2 separate regions of the Homo sapiens genome follow, and region 1 is linked to region 2. Evidence: promoter capture Hi-C in human tissues and cell types (Jung and others, 2019). All regions are on one chromosome and are shown on one strand. The core of a region is centred on a gene start or on the middle of the fragment in contact, and the rest is flanking DNA. Distances in the headings are between cores, read along the strand shown.

Region 1 (6,038 bases), core at 3,470-5,969, 610 kb before region 2:
TCACCATCATCATCCTCATCATCACCACCACCATCACCGTCATCATCACCACCATCATCATCACCACCACCATCATCACCACCATCATCATCATCCTCACCATCATCACCACCATCACTGTATTCATCACCATCACCATCAACACCACCATCACCATCACCATCATCACCACCATCACCATCACCTCCATCACCATCATCATCACTGTTACCATCATCACCACCACCATCCTCACCATCATCATGATCACACCACCATGTCATTACCATCATCATCACCATCACTGTCATCTTCATTACCATCATTGCCACCATCACCATTATCACCACCACCACCACCATCACTGCCATCATCACCACAACCATCACATTCCTACCACCATAGCAATAGCAGTAGTAGCAGAAGCCATCATAAGAAGAGAAGCAGGGTGTCTTGAATAGAAAAAGGGAGTTTTCTTTTAGTTCTATTTTATTTGTGGTGTAGTTTAGTAACATGGGGATCATCTGGAGTGGAGAAGGGTCTAGGAGGAGTATACAAAGGAGAAGGAGCCATGGTCTGGGACTCTGGGCTGAGCTCTGCTCTCAACTCCCTGTGTGGCCTTGGACATTCTCACCTGTAGACTGGAGTGACCCTGACAGGAAGGGCTTTGATGGTGGAGGCCAGGAGCCCTCACTACATTTCCTTGTAACTTTCGGGTACCATGGAAAGAAATAAAAACCTCATTCAAAGGCCCCATTCCTACCAGGTCCTCCCTTAAAAGGCTGGATGTAACACAGCAAACACACATAGAAAGACTGGGAGGTGGAAGGCCGCCCAGGGACCTCGGGACTGGGGCTCCTAGGCTTCCTGACTGTCTCCCACACGTGTCTAGCAGGGTGCTCAGAAGCCTCTGACCCAAATCTCCAACAGGCACAGACACAAAAAGCTCCCAGAAAAGCCTGTTCCCCCTGGGAACAGGGTGACCCAGCAGAATAGCTTTTTGGAAACACCTTCCTTACTCCAGCTCAACACCAATGAAAACACCACACCCCACCTTTGGGTTTCAGTGGGAAAGTGGGGAATTGATCTAACACCCTACCTCCACCTCACTCCCGCCCCTTCCCACCCCCACATTACCCCTACACCTCACCCCACTCCATCCCCTTCCCTCCCCATCTCACCCCCATCCTATCCCCACCTCCCTCCACCCCCCACCCCACCCCACCGCCCCCAGCAGCAGCAGTGAGGCTGAGCCAGGTGGTGTGAGCCAGTCTCATCGCCACCACTTCAGCCTGAACCTTAGGGTCAGTGGGCTCCCTGCAGGGATGTGAACCCCCAGCATTCACGCGGTGGGAAAAGGTGATGGGATAAGCCCAAAGAAATCCACTCCGAGACGCATCAAAATTAAACTTCTGAAATCTAGAGACAGTGAAAACTCTGAAGCAGCCACAGAGACCTGACCCATGACCTGGGGAGCCCAGCGAATAACAGAGGATGCCTGATCGAAACCAGGCGGCTGGAGAGCCCGAGAGCTGAAAGGAAACGGTGACCTGCAGATTCCACTGCAGTGGACACAGCCTTCAGGGATGAGGGAGAAATTAAGTCACCTCAGTTGAAGGAAGGCAAAGATTCTGTTGCCAGTGTCCTATCTTTGCAGAATGGCTGCAGGAAGCTCTCTAAACACAGGAGGAATAACAGCACAATGAGTCTTGGGCTTCAGACAGGACAAAAGAACACCAGATTGGGTAAAAATAGGGGTCAATAGATTCGACTTGACGAGCTTCTTAAATCATATTTGATGGTTGAAGGAAAAATCTCAGCCCCCCTGATGTTGCATTCAGTGCACACACAGCAGACAAGACAACTGTGTTTTAGAGGTGAGGGGGAAGGGTCCCGGACAGAAGAAGGTTTCACGTTTCCCTCTAATGGTACCATGTCAATGCCCGTAGCTTGTGACATCATATACATCCCGGCATATACGGCGTAATACCCAGGGTGACCACTAAGAAACCTACAAAAACGAGGTACTCTAAACACGCTAAATAAATCAAGACACAATCCTGAAACATGTTCCAGTAACCCAGAGGGAGGTAAGAAAAGAGAAACAGGAATGAGAAGCAGAAGACACAGCAGAGAGTGATCAGATGGCAGACTTGAGATTCCGTGTATCAATGAGTTACCAGGTAAATGGACTAAATACACCAACTGAAAGGCAGAGATTGGTAGGGTGGATAAGAAAACGACCCAGCTATACGCCGTCTTCACACCAGCCCCATGCTCACTTCCAACAGCATAGGTCGGTTGAAAGTGAAATGGTGGAAAAAGATGCACTTTGTGAAGATTGAAAGACACACGCATTTCAGGTAAATGGGTTTATTTCATTCAGGCTGAATTTCCTGAGTACTTTTTTCTCCTTTCTTCTTTCCGCCTGCATTGCGTCTCCCTCCCTCTTCCCTTGGCGACATGCTGGAACCCACAGTGCATGCACTTGGTAACCACATAGAACACAGGTATGGGTCCACACGAAGCAGCGGACATAGGCAAAGACATGGGGAAGGGGCGCTGTTTTCTTTTCCAAAAAACCAAGGGAAGGACCATGGCGTAAAGAGTTATCTGTATTTTCCACTTCTCTCCCAATAATATTTTGGGTTAATTCCACCACATCAATGTGGAAAAATTCCCTCCATGCATAATTTACTCAACCGTTAACATTGGTGATGGCCATTAACTTTGTTTCCAGCATTCTGCCCCCAAACAATGATGCTATAAACATCACTGAAAGTAAAAACAAACAGAAGAATCACACTTGCTAAGCAGAAGTGTTGATTCTTTGTACTTCCTTTGGGAGCAGGACCCCTGAGTTTAGAGGGCCCTAAACAAACGGTGACTTCTGTTCCCGTCTGTTCCTATCTGCTGAGAGCGGCAGCTCCACCCTGTTCAGCCGCCCGGCCTCACACAAGCAGAGCCCCGGCCCTGGCATGCTAGGTAGGGCCCACACAGGGAGGGGTTTCTTGCTGAGCCGTCAGAACCTGGTGCACGCGCTAGTCCCCACCATCCCTGCCGACTCTCTCAGCCCACCTAAGACCCTTGTTTAGAATGCGGACTCCAGCGCCCTATTCACCTGAGGCCCAGGGCCCTACTTTCATACAAACTGCAGATGGACACAGCCTGGCCTCAGCCCAGGCTTTCTTGGGAGGAAGCGAAGGGGAGCGGGTGTGGACCAAGACACTTCACAGATTCACTGTCAGGGCCAGAAATGACTCTGCCGCCCCCAAGAAGGAACTGAGCCGAGGTGGCCAGGTGTTCCGGCATTGGTCCTTTATTGAACATCCTCCCAAAGCTGGGGCTAGGGTTCACCCCCCACGGTACCCAACGAGAAGCGGCCTTCAGAAGCATCTTCTCTGCACCACGGAGGTCCCAAACTCCTTGAAGTCTGCGGCGGTGACCCACATCTGCTTGAAGCTACTCAGAGAGGTGACGATGGAGGCTCCAATCCAGGTGGAGAACCACCGGTCGGGGGGAGCCGTGATCTTGATGGGGGTGTCCTTGGAGGCCAGCTGCTCCAGCTCCTTGAGAAGCCGGTCATCCAGCCCGTGGAACAGGGTAGTGCCCCCCGACAGCACAATCTCCCCAAAGAGGATCTTCTGGATGTCGGTATCACACTTGGTGATGCTGCTGGAGACCATATTCGAGAGCCCGGGGCTCTGGCTGCCCAGCTGCTGGGGCACGAACAGGGCCTCGGGCGCCTGGTGCAGCGGGTCCCCGAGGCTGATGATGTTCCCGTCGGGCAGCTTGTACTCCCTCAGGACCTCCTCCGGCCTCCGGGAAAGCTCCTTCTCGGGCTCCAAGGCCACGTAGCACAGCTTCTTTTTGATGTCGTCCACGAGACCCTTGTCCAGCTGGCAGGGGAAGGTGTGGCCGCTGGCCAGGAGCAGCTGCATGAGGAGCTCCGTGATGTCCCTGCCCGCCACGTGGAGCTTGGTGACTGCGTGGGGCAGGGAGTAACCCTCAAAGATGGGGACAGTGCAGGTGACCGCATCCCCGCTGTCCACCACCAGGCCCGTGACACAGGCAGAGGCGTAGAGAGCCAGCACCGCCTGGTCCGACAGGTAGAAAGCGGGCACGCCGAAGTTCTCGAACATGACTTCTGCCATCTTCTCACGGTTCTCCCTGGGGTTCAGGGAGGGCTCCGTTGCAAGCAGGGGCTGGTCGCTGGGTTTCACGCCTAGCTCCCACTCAAAGAGGTGCTTCCAGAGTCTCTCCACGTCATCCCACCCTGTGATCAGGCCACGCTCGAAAGGGGAGTGCAGCTGCAGGGCCTCCTGCTTGTACAGGGCCTCCTCCCCCACAAAGTACTTCTTCTGGTTGGCCTCTGCTGAGGGAGCCTGGAATTTCAGGTGCCCCACGATGGAGCTGACCATGTGCCGGGGTCCAAACTCCCCAGACAGGCCCGCTTTGCAGAACCCCGAGCCATTGTCAAAAATCACAGCCGGGGAGTCTAAAGCGTGCGGATTAAACATGCCCGCAGCCTTCCCTTCTCAGCCTCATCAAAATAAAGACCAGCCCTCCAGGGCCGCTTTGTGATGCAATAGGGGATCCCACAGCTCTTCCCACAGCTCTCGGGGTGTCTCAAGGCAGGGCTAGCACCGTGCCCGGGAGCCCTGCATCCTCAGCCGCAGGTCTGCTCTCCCTCCAGGTGGCCTGGGCCTGCTGAGGCCTCTTCCAGGGGGCCAGGGGGTTGTCTCCTAGGTAACAATCTAGCCAAGGCAACGATTGTCCTGAGCCTCAGAGGCCCTGGGGGTGGGGCTCTGAGTCCCCCATCCCCCACAGGGTGAGGTGAGAGAGAGAGAGAGAGACAAGTGCATCCTAGGGCGGTGCTGGACAAGCCTGTGGGCTGAGGCAGAGACTTAGCTTTAGAGTGGAGAGAAGCAGCCCAGCCTGCGTGCACCCTAGAAAACCAGCTTCTCTGGCCCCTGAGCTGCAACTTCTGGGGTGACAACACTTCCCTTTGCTAAGGGGGAAAACCAAGCACCAGGTCGGAGGGGTGTTGTAAGCAGTTCTGTCCCAGCAGGCACTTAGAATGTGCTTTTGAATAGTGATTCCCCCAGGAAGCTCTCAGGGATTTCTCCTCCCTCCATCCCATTAGTCCTGGCTGTCTGTCCCACTGGGTAGACCCTATTCAAAGCCCTCTGGGCTGCTGGCCCTTTGTCCAGGAATACATCTCTGCTCTGGCTTGAGGCCAGCACCCCTCATTCCTCTCTGCAGACTCTGAAGTGCCAGCACACAACAAAGTCCAGCAGCCATAGAGTTGGGAACCCAACAGCCCTGAAGATATGGCCTGCTGGTTTCACATGGGTAGCCTGGATTGCAGCCTGTGACACCTCTCTGTGTCTATGAGCTGCCACACAGTCAGGCCACAACCACAGAGCAATGCTCAGAGGTGACCAGGCCATTAAAGGTCAAGGCCTGAGCATGACCAGGAAGGAGGCACCGGGCCAGGCCAAGGGCACCCACAACAGTGCACGCCCGGCACTCAGACCCCCGCTTTGTCTTCCGCTTGGGGAGAAAGTGGGAGGGGATCCAACCTGGGAACCAGCTTCACTTTTTTCCTAAGGAGGTTGGAGGTGGCCTTGGAGAATGTGAGGTTTATTCTACCTCTCCTGTCATATCCACAATCATGCTCCAGCCCAGCTTGGCCCCCCAGAGTTCTCCCAGAGGACGCCTCCCGGGGTCACTCCCTTCCTGGAGCCCCTCAGCTCCTGCTGGTGGCCCCCTCTGTGTGTCCTGCCTGCCCTGCTGACCCACCAGCAGGCATTAATCCGATGGTGGTGTAGACACATGTTGTAGATGGGCAGTCTAGACACGTGGTACAGACATGTGGTGTAGACACGAGGTACAGACGCATATGGATGTGCCGTGTAGATGCATGGGATAGATGGGTGGTGTAGACACGCGCGGTACACTCGTTGTTGATGTGTGGTGTAGATGTGTCTTGTTGACACGTGGTTTTGTGGGCCCCACTAATCCCTGGGTGGTAGTCAACAAAAACTTGATTATTG
Region 2 (5,796 bases), core at 437-2,936:
TGGGGGATGCCTCCTAGAGCAGGCCCTCCCGTCAGGGGCCCATCATAGAACCCAGTGTGAATCCAAAGGAGCCGAAGCCTCCTCCTCAGAATCAGACGTGGAGCCATGAACCCAGGGGCCAGAGCGGCATCTCAAACTGTTATCTAAGCATTGACCAGAACACATGATCACCTCAGCGGCTCCACGTGGGCGATGCCGGGTTGCCTGGTCCACGGATGAGGGGTTCAGCCCAAGGTGCTCAACCCAATCAGAGGGCAGCCTCTGTGTCCAGGAGACACGGGTGCACCCGCGGGGTCAGAACTCCAAAGGGGCGCGGGGGCGCTGGGAGGTTTGGTAGCCAGAGGGCCTGCGGGGCGGGGCCACCCAGGCCATGCCCCTTCCCTGTAAGAGGGGCCATTCCTGCAGTGTGGGGCTCTGGCTTTGTGACTGGGCTGTGCCAGTCTGGGGATGATCCCACAGCTGAGCTCCTGTAGATGGAACCAGAGGTGAGGCAAGGAACTGGAGGCCCTCCCCACTGAGGTCAGCGGGGCGCAGACGCCCCCTTGTCGTGCCCTGCCTTCCTCCTGCAATCCTGCAGGACTCTCCAGGGCCAAGTGCTGCCCTTGGGGCCAAAAAACAGGGCCTTCTCCTTCACCTGCCCTGCAGCCATTCAGGTATGTACCAGGCATCTCCTGCCCTCCCTGGCCAGGCGGCCCCAGAGGCACAGGCCGCAGACACCGCAGGCGACCTGCGTGGGCCTCCAGTTCCCGCCCCAGCCCTTCCCACCCCCAGCTCAGGGCAGGTCCAGCTGTGGCCAGCGGCTGGGGAAGGTTCTGTCCCCTCCAGGTGTGCGGCCTTGGCAAGTGCTTCAGGCCTCCCTCCGCTCGTCCCCTGGGAGCAGAGGGATCGGAGCGCCTGCGATGTGGTTCCCCAGAGCACCTGCGGGGCTCAGGCCAGGCAGGGTGGAGGGTGGAGGGTGGAAGGCCACCTTCCGCCCGTCCTGGAACCACGCGGCGGCTTCCCGGCTGCCCCCCACCCGCCAGGCCCTGCCTCCCGTGGGCACCAGGGGGGCGTCCACACCAAGCCGGCCGTGTGCTTTTCGCGCAGGATTACTGGGGAAGGCGGCTGCTCGGGGCCTGGAAGGTCCCGGGTCTCGCCTCGTGCCCCTCTGGCCCCCAAACCGACCGGCTCCCCGGAACTGGCCAACCCGCGCTGAGAGCCCGCGCAGCTCAAAGGGCGCGAGGGCGGGACCGCCGCGGCCGGCGCTGGGAGCTCGGCTTCCCGAAGACCCAAGCGAAAGCCTCCGTCTCCCCAGCCGTAAATGGGCCTGCAGCGTCTCCACTCCGCAGCGCTGTCCCCAGTGGGAGGGCGGCCCGTGGACGTGCAGGGAGCAGAGCAGGGGCCCCTGGCAGCGTAGGACCCCGAGGTCGCAGCAACCACGCGGCCGCGAGCCCATCCCGCTGCCTCGCCAGCGCCCCTCGCGCGTGCCCCGCCCCCACCTCGGCTCGCGGGCCCCGCCCCGCTCCGCTCCGCCCTGCGCCTCCGACTACCTTCCCGCTGCCCCGCCCCGCGCTGCGCTGGTTCGGACTCCAGCCCCGCTTCCGCCCGGGCCCTGGCCCCGCCTCCAGCCCCAGTCCGGCCCCGCCCCAGCACCTTGACGCAGAGGTCTGCGCCGCACGCAGAGCCACGTCGTGCCGTCATCAGTTCTCGCCCGTCTGGGCGTGGGCGTGGCCGGCGTGGCTGCTCGGGACCACCCGAACCCGCGGCCATGGCCCCGGCCGCCGCCAGCCCCCCGGAGGTGATCCGCGCGGCGCAGAAGGACGAGTACTACCGCGGTGGGCTGCGGAGCGCGGCGGGCGGCGCCCTGCACAGCCTGGCGGGTGAGGGCCGGGCGCGGCCGGACGTCCTCGCGAGCGGCCCAGGGGGTGTTGCCCCTCATGGAGGCGGGGTGTCTGCCGTGTGTGGTCACGGTCGCCTGGGCCCGTCCCACAACCTGGGACCCGGCAGTCTCCTTCGCCTGCCCTGCGGCCATTCAGGGATGTGCGGGGCACCTCCTGCCCTCCCTGGCCAGGTGGCCCCAGAGGCACAGGCCGCAGACACCGCGGGGGACCTGCGTGGGCCTCCAGTTCCCGCCCAAGCCCTTCCCGTCCCCAGCTCAGGGCAGGTCCAGCTGACGCCAGCGGCTGGGGAAGACTCTGTCCCCTCCAGGTGTGAGGCCTTGGCAAGTGCTTCAAGCCTCCCTCCGATCCTCCCCTGTGAGCAGAGGGGTCAGAGCGCCCGCGGCGCGAACGCCTCATACCTCGGTCCGGTTCACACTGACCCCGGCCTTTCCTAGGCCTGAGCAGCAGCCCAGGCCCCTCGCCCTGCTGACCCCAGTGTAGGCTCAGCCAGGCCCTGCCTGCCTCACCAGGCCGGGAGCTGAGTACAGAAGCCAGTGTACTCAATGAAGCAGCACCTGTCATCCCAGCAGTTTGGGAGGCAGAGGCGGGAGGATCGCTTGAGCCCAGGAGTTTGAAACCAGCCTGGGCAACATGGCAAGACCCCGTCTCTACAAAAAATCTGAAAATTAGCCGGACGTGGTGGCGGCGTCTGTAATCCCAGCTCTTCAGGAGGCTGAGGCAAGAGAATCGCCTGAGCCCGAGGGATGAGGCTGCAGTGAGCCATGATTGTGCCGCTGCACTCCAGCCTGGGCGACGGGGCCAGACCCCATCACCGATTAAAAAACGAAAAAAAAAAGATGCCGGGTGTGGTGGCTCACGCCTGTAATCCCAGCACTTTGGGAGGCCGAGGCGGGTGGATCACTTGAGGTCAGGAGTTCGAGACCAGTCTACACAACATGGTGAAACCCCGTCTCTACTAAAAATACAAAAATCAGCAGGGCGTGGTGGCGCGTGCGTGTAATCCCAGCTACTTGGGAGGCTGAGACAGAATCACTTGAACCCGGGAGGCGGAGGTTGCAGTAAGCCAAGATCGTGCCACTGCACTCCAGTCTGGGCAACAGAGTGAGACTCCATCTCAAAAAAAAAAAAAAAAAAAAAAAGGCAAAGCCATCAAGTCTTTGGGGGGTGGGGCAGGCAGTCGTTAAAGGCATGAACTCCCAGCAGAACGTTTCAGGGAGCAGTGGCACTAGAGCCCAGTGGTGGGGGTGTCGTGGCCAAAGGAACAGTGCCATGGGACAGGAAGAGCATGGGTAAATATCAGAGGACAGCCAGGCTCCGTGCCGGGAGGCCCATGGGTGTCAGGTGGGCAGCCATTGGTGGATTCTGAACAGGAGAGTGACATGATGAGAATTTTTTGTGTGTGTACTTACTTGTTTTACAGTACACTTGGCACTTACCCCTGTGCCAGACACTGTTCCCAGTGTTTTACAAATATTGAATCTTCAAACATCCCTCCAAGTAGGACTTATTACTCTTCTGATAGATGAGCAAATTGAGATTCCAGAAAGACCTCACAGCCAGCAAGTTGGAGAGCTGCTTTTTGATGCTAGACAGTTGGCCTCTGGCCTGTAATCTTAATACCCCAGACCATCTTTCCATGTGGCCCTCATAGGCCCTAGAACAGTTGCTCAGGGGAATCCCGGAGCAAGAGATGAGCACAGGTGGGAGATTCTTCGCAGACTGTCTGCAGCTCACGCTAAGGCAAGTCAAGGTGGTGCCTCCGGAGACAGAAGCAGAGAGGGAGGCCAGGGAGTGAGTGTTGGCTTCATGGAAGGGGTGGGACTGGATCTGGGCCTAGACAACTGGGGGAGGACTGTGGTCCCTCATCCTCAGAGGATGCCCACCAGCTCCCCCGGACTAATACTGTTTCTCCTCTCAGGTGCGAGGAAGTGGCTGGAGTGGAGGAAGGAGGTTGAGCTGCTCTCAGATGTGGCCTACTTTGGCCTCACCACACTTGCAGGTAGAAGCTCCCACGGGACCTCAGGACTGAGGGCAGCCACACACACCAAGTCTGGGGACGGTGGCCAGGGGGCTGCCAGGCAGTGTGAGAAGCTCCTGGAGCTGGCCCGGGTGAGGTTGCTTCAGGGAAGTGCAGGAGGTACTGCTCCGAGGGAGGCGAGGCATCTGCTCCCAGCAGGGAGCCGACTTTTCCAGCCTTTGTGTGTCCCTGGGGTTCTTTGTTTAAGACTTTACCCCGGGTGCCACTGAGACCCATTTCTCAGTGGCCAGCCCTGGTGGCACCAGTGAGTCACAGTGCTGAGCCATGTCATAGGGTGCAGTGCCCGTGTGACAGTGCCCTGGTGGAGCAGTGGTGGGTCTGTGGCCCAGGCTGGTCACCACCCTTTAGAGGGAGTTGTTGACAGAAGCTCTCAGGCTCCCAACCCCAGCTCAGCATGTAGCAAGGACCACCGAGTGCCAGCCTGGTTCCCTACGAGGGGCTCGCCCCGGGCATCCTGCCGCCATGGAGAGTGTGCTCGGTGGGCGGGAGACAGATGTGGCTGCGTCACAGAGCATCTTGGGAAGTGAGGGGCTCTCAGAGATAAAGACCACGTCTTAGGGAAGAGCATTTTCCAGACCGGCAGAGCAAGCAGCCGGGAAAGGCCCTGAGAAGAACACGTCCTTGGCGGTTTGGGAGAATGACCCCGGGGGGCTCGTGAGTTTTGTAAGCCCATAGCTTTCCCTGTGCGAGGCTTGGGGCATTCCAGGGACGTGGGCAGGGGAGAGGCCGACCACTAGCTAAGACCAGACCTCAGGGGACAAAGTTGGGCTCAGGGAGACTACAGAGGCTGTGACAGTCCCCCACAGGATGGTGGTGGTACAGAGCAGGGGCGGCAGCGAGGGGGTGGAACACACAGGGAAGGTGCATGCAGGGTGCCCCTTGGGCTTGACCTCAGGAACCGGAGGCCTGGCGTTGCCATCCACAGAGATGGAAACGGGGAGCAGGCTTTTCTGGGTGGGGGCGCTGAAAGCTGTCTCGGCAGGGGTGGAATTGGGGTGCTCATCTGAGCATACATGGCGATGTCAGGTAGGTGGCGGACCTGCATGGCTGGCACTCACAAGTAAGGTCCAGGCTGGGCATAAATCGGGTGGTGCCAGCTGTGTGGTTGGTGGAGAGCCATGGGACTGGATCCGAGTGCTTGGGCTGGGGGAGGTGGCGGGGACAGCTAGGGAGAAAGGGGAAAGAGCAGAGACTCTTGGGGAGAAGCCAAGAGAGGGAGGGACACTGGCCAGCCAAGGCCCTGGGAGCCAAGGGCAGCCATTGGCCGGGCCTGTCATGTGCTGCCTGAGCTCACAGTGGGCTTAGCGACAGAAGGTCATGTTGGCCTCAGCCAGCACGGGGTGACAGTGGGCTCAAGGGCGACAAGATGGGGCTGTTGACAGGAGCCAGCAGAGGGTCGGCTGGCAGGGGCGCCGGGAGCCTGTCCCCGCGGCAGCAGTCTCAGGGTCCACATACCCATCCTCTTCCTCGCAGGCTACCAGACCCTGGGGGAGGAGTACGTCAGCATCATCCAGGTGGACCCATCGCGGATACATGTGCCCTCCTCGCTGCGCCGTGGCGTGCTGGTGACACTGCATGCCGTCCTGCCCTACCTGCTGGACAAGGCCCTGCTCCCCCTGGAGCAGGAGCTGCAGGCTGACCCCGACAGTGGGCGACCCTTGCAGGGGAGCCTGGGGCCAGGTGGGCGTGGCTGCTCAGGGGCGCGGCGCTGGATGCGTCACCACACGGCCACCCTGACTGAGCAGCAGAGGAGGGCGCTGCTGCGGGCGGTCTTCGTCCTCAGACAGGGCCTCGCCTGCCTCCAGCGGCTACATGTTGCCTGGTTTTACATCCACGGTGTCTTCTACCACCTGGCCAAGAGGCTCACGGGGATCACGT

The links. The method cuts DNA at HindIII sites, captures the fragments that hold promoters and counts their contacts. A contact is called where the count stands out against the background at its distance.
Region 1: the fragment with the promoter of ACTRT2 here is called in contact with the fragment with the promoter of PEX10 in region 2 in 1 of the 25 tissues and cell types used here (H1 embryonic stem cells).

The regions. Positions count from the first base shown.
Region 1 is chr1:3,020,148-3,026,185 of GRCh38, reverse strand. It overlaps ACTRT2 (actin related protein T2), which reads right to left and starts at 4,719. Exons shown (of 1, transcript NM_080431.5): 1 at 3,283-4,719. The coding sequence starts at 4,499. The coding sequence ends at 3,366. RefSeq lists an enhancer at 1,668-1,837. The HindIII fragment of the contact is 18,700 bases long and covers 1-6,038 here.
Region 2 is chr1:2,408,454-2,414,249 of GRCh38, reverse strand. PEX10 (peroxisomal biogenesis factor 10) reads left to right here and starts at 1,686. Exons shown (of 6, transcript NM_002617.4): 1 at 1,686-1,859; 2 at 3,799-3,879; 3 at 5,392-5,796. The coding sequence starts at 1,748. RefSeq lists enhancers at 717-1,296, 1,297-1,877, 1,878-2,458, 2,459-3,039, 5,068-5,568 and silencers at 961-1,560, 1,721-2,100. The HindIII fragment of the contact is 18,898 bases long and covers 1-5,796 here.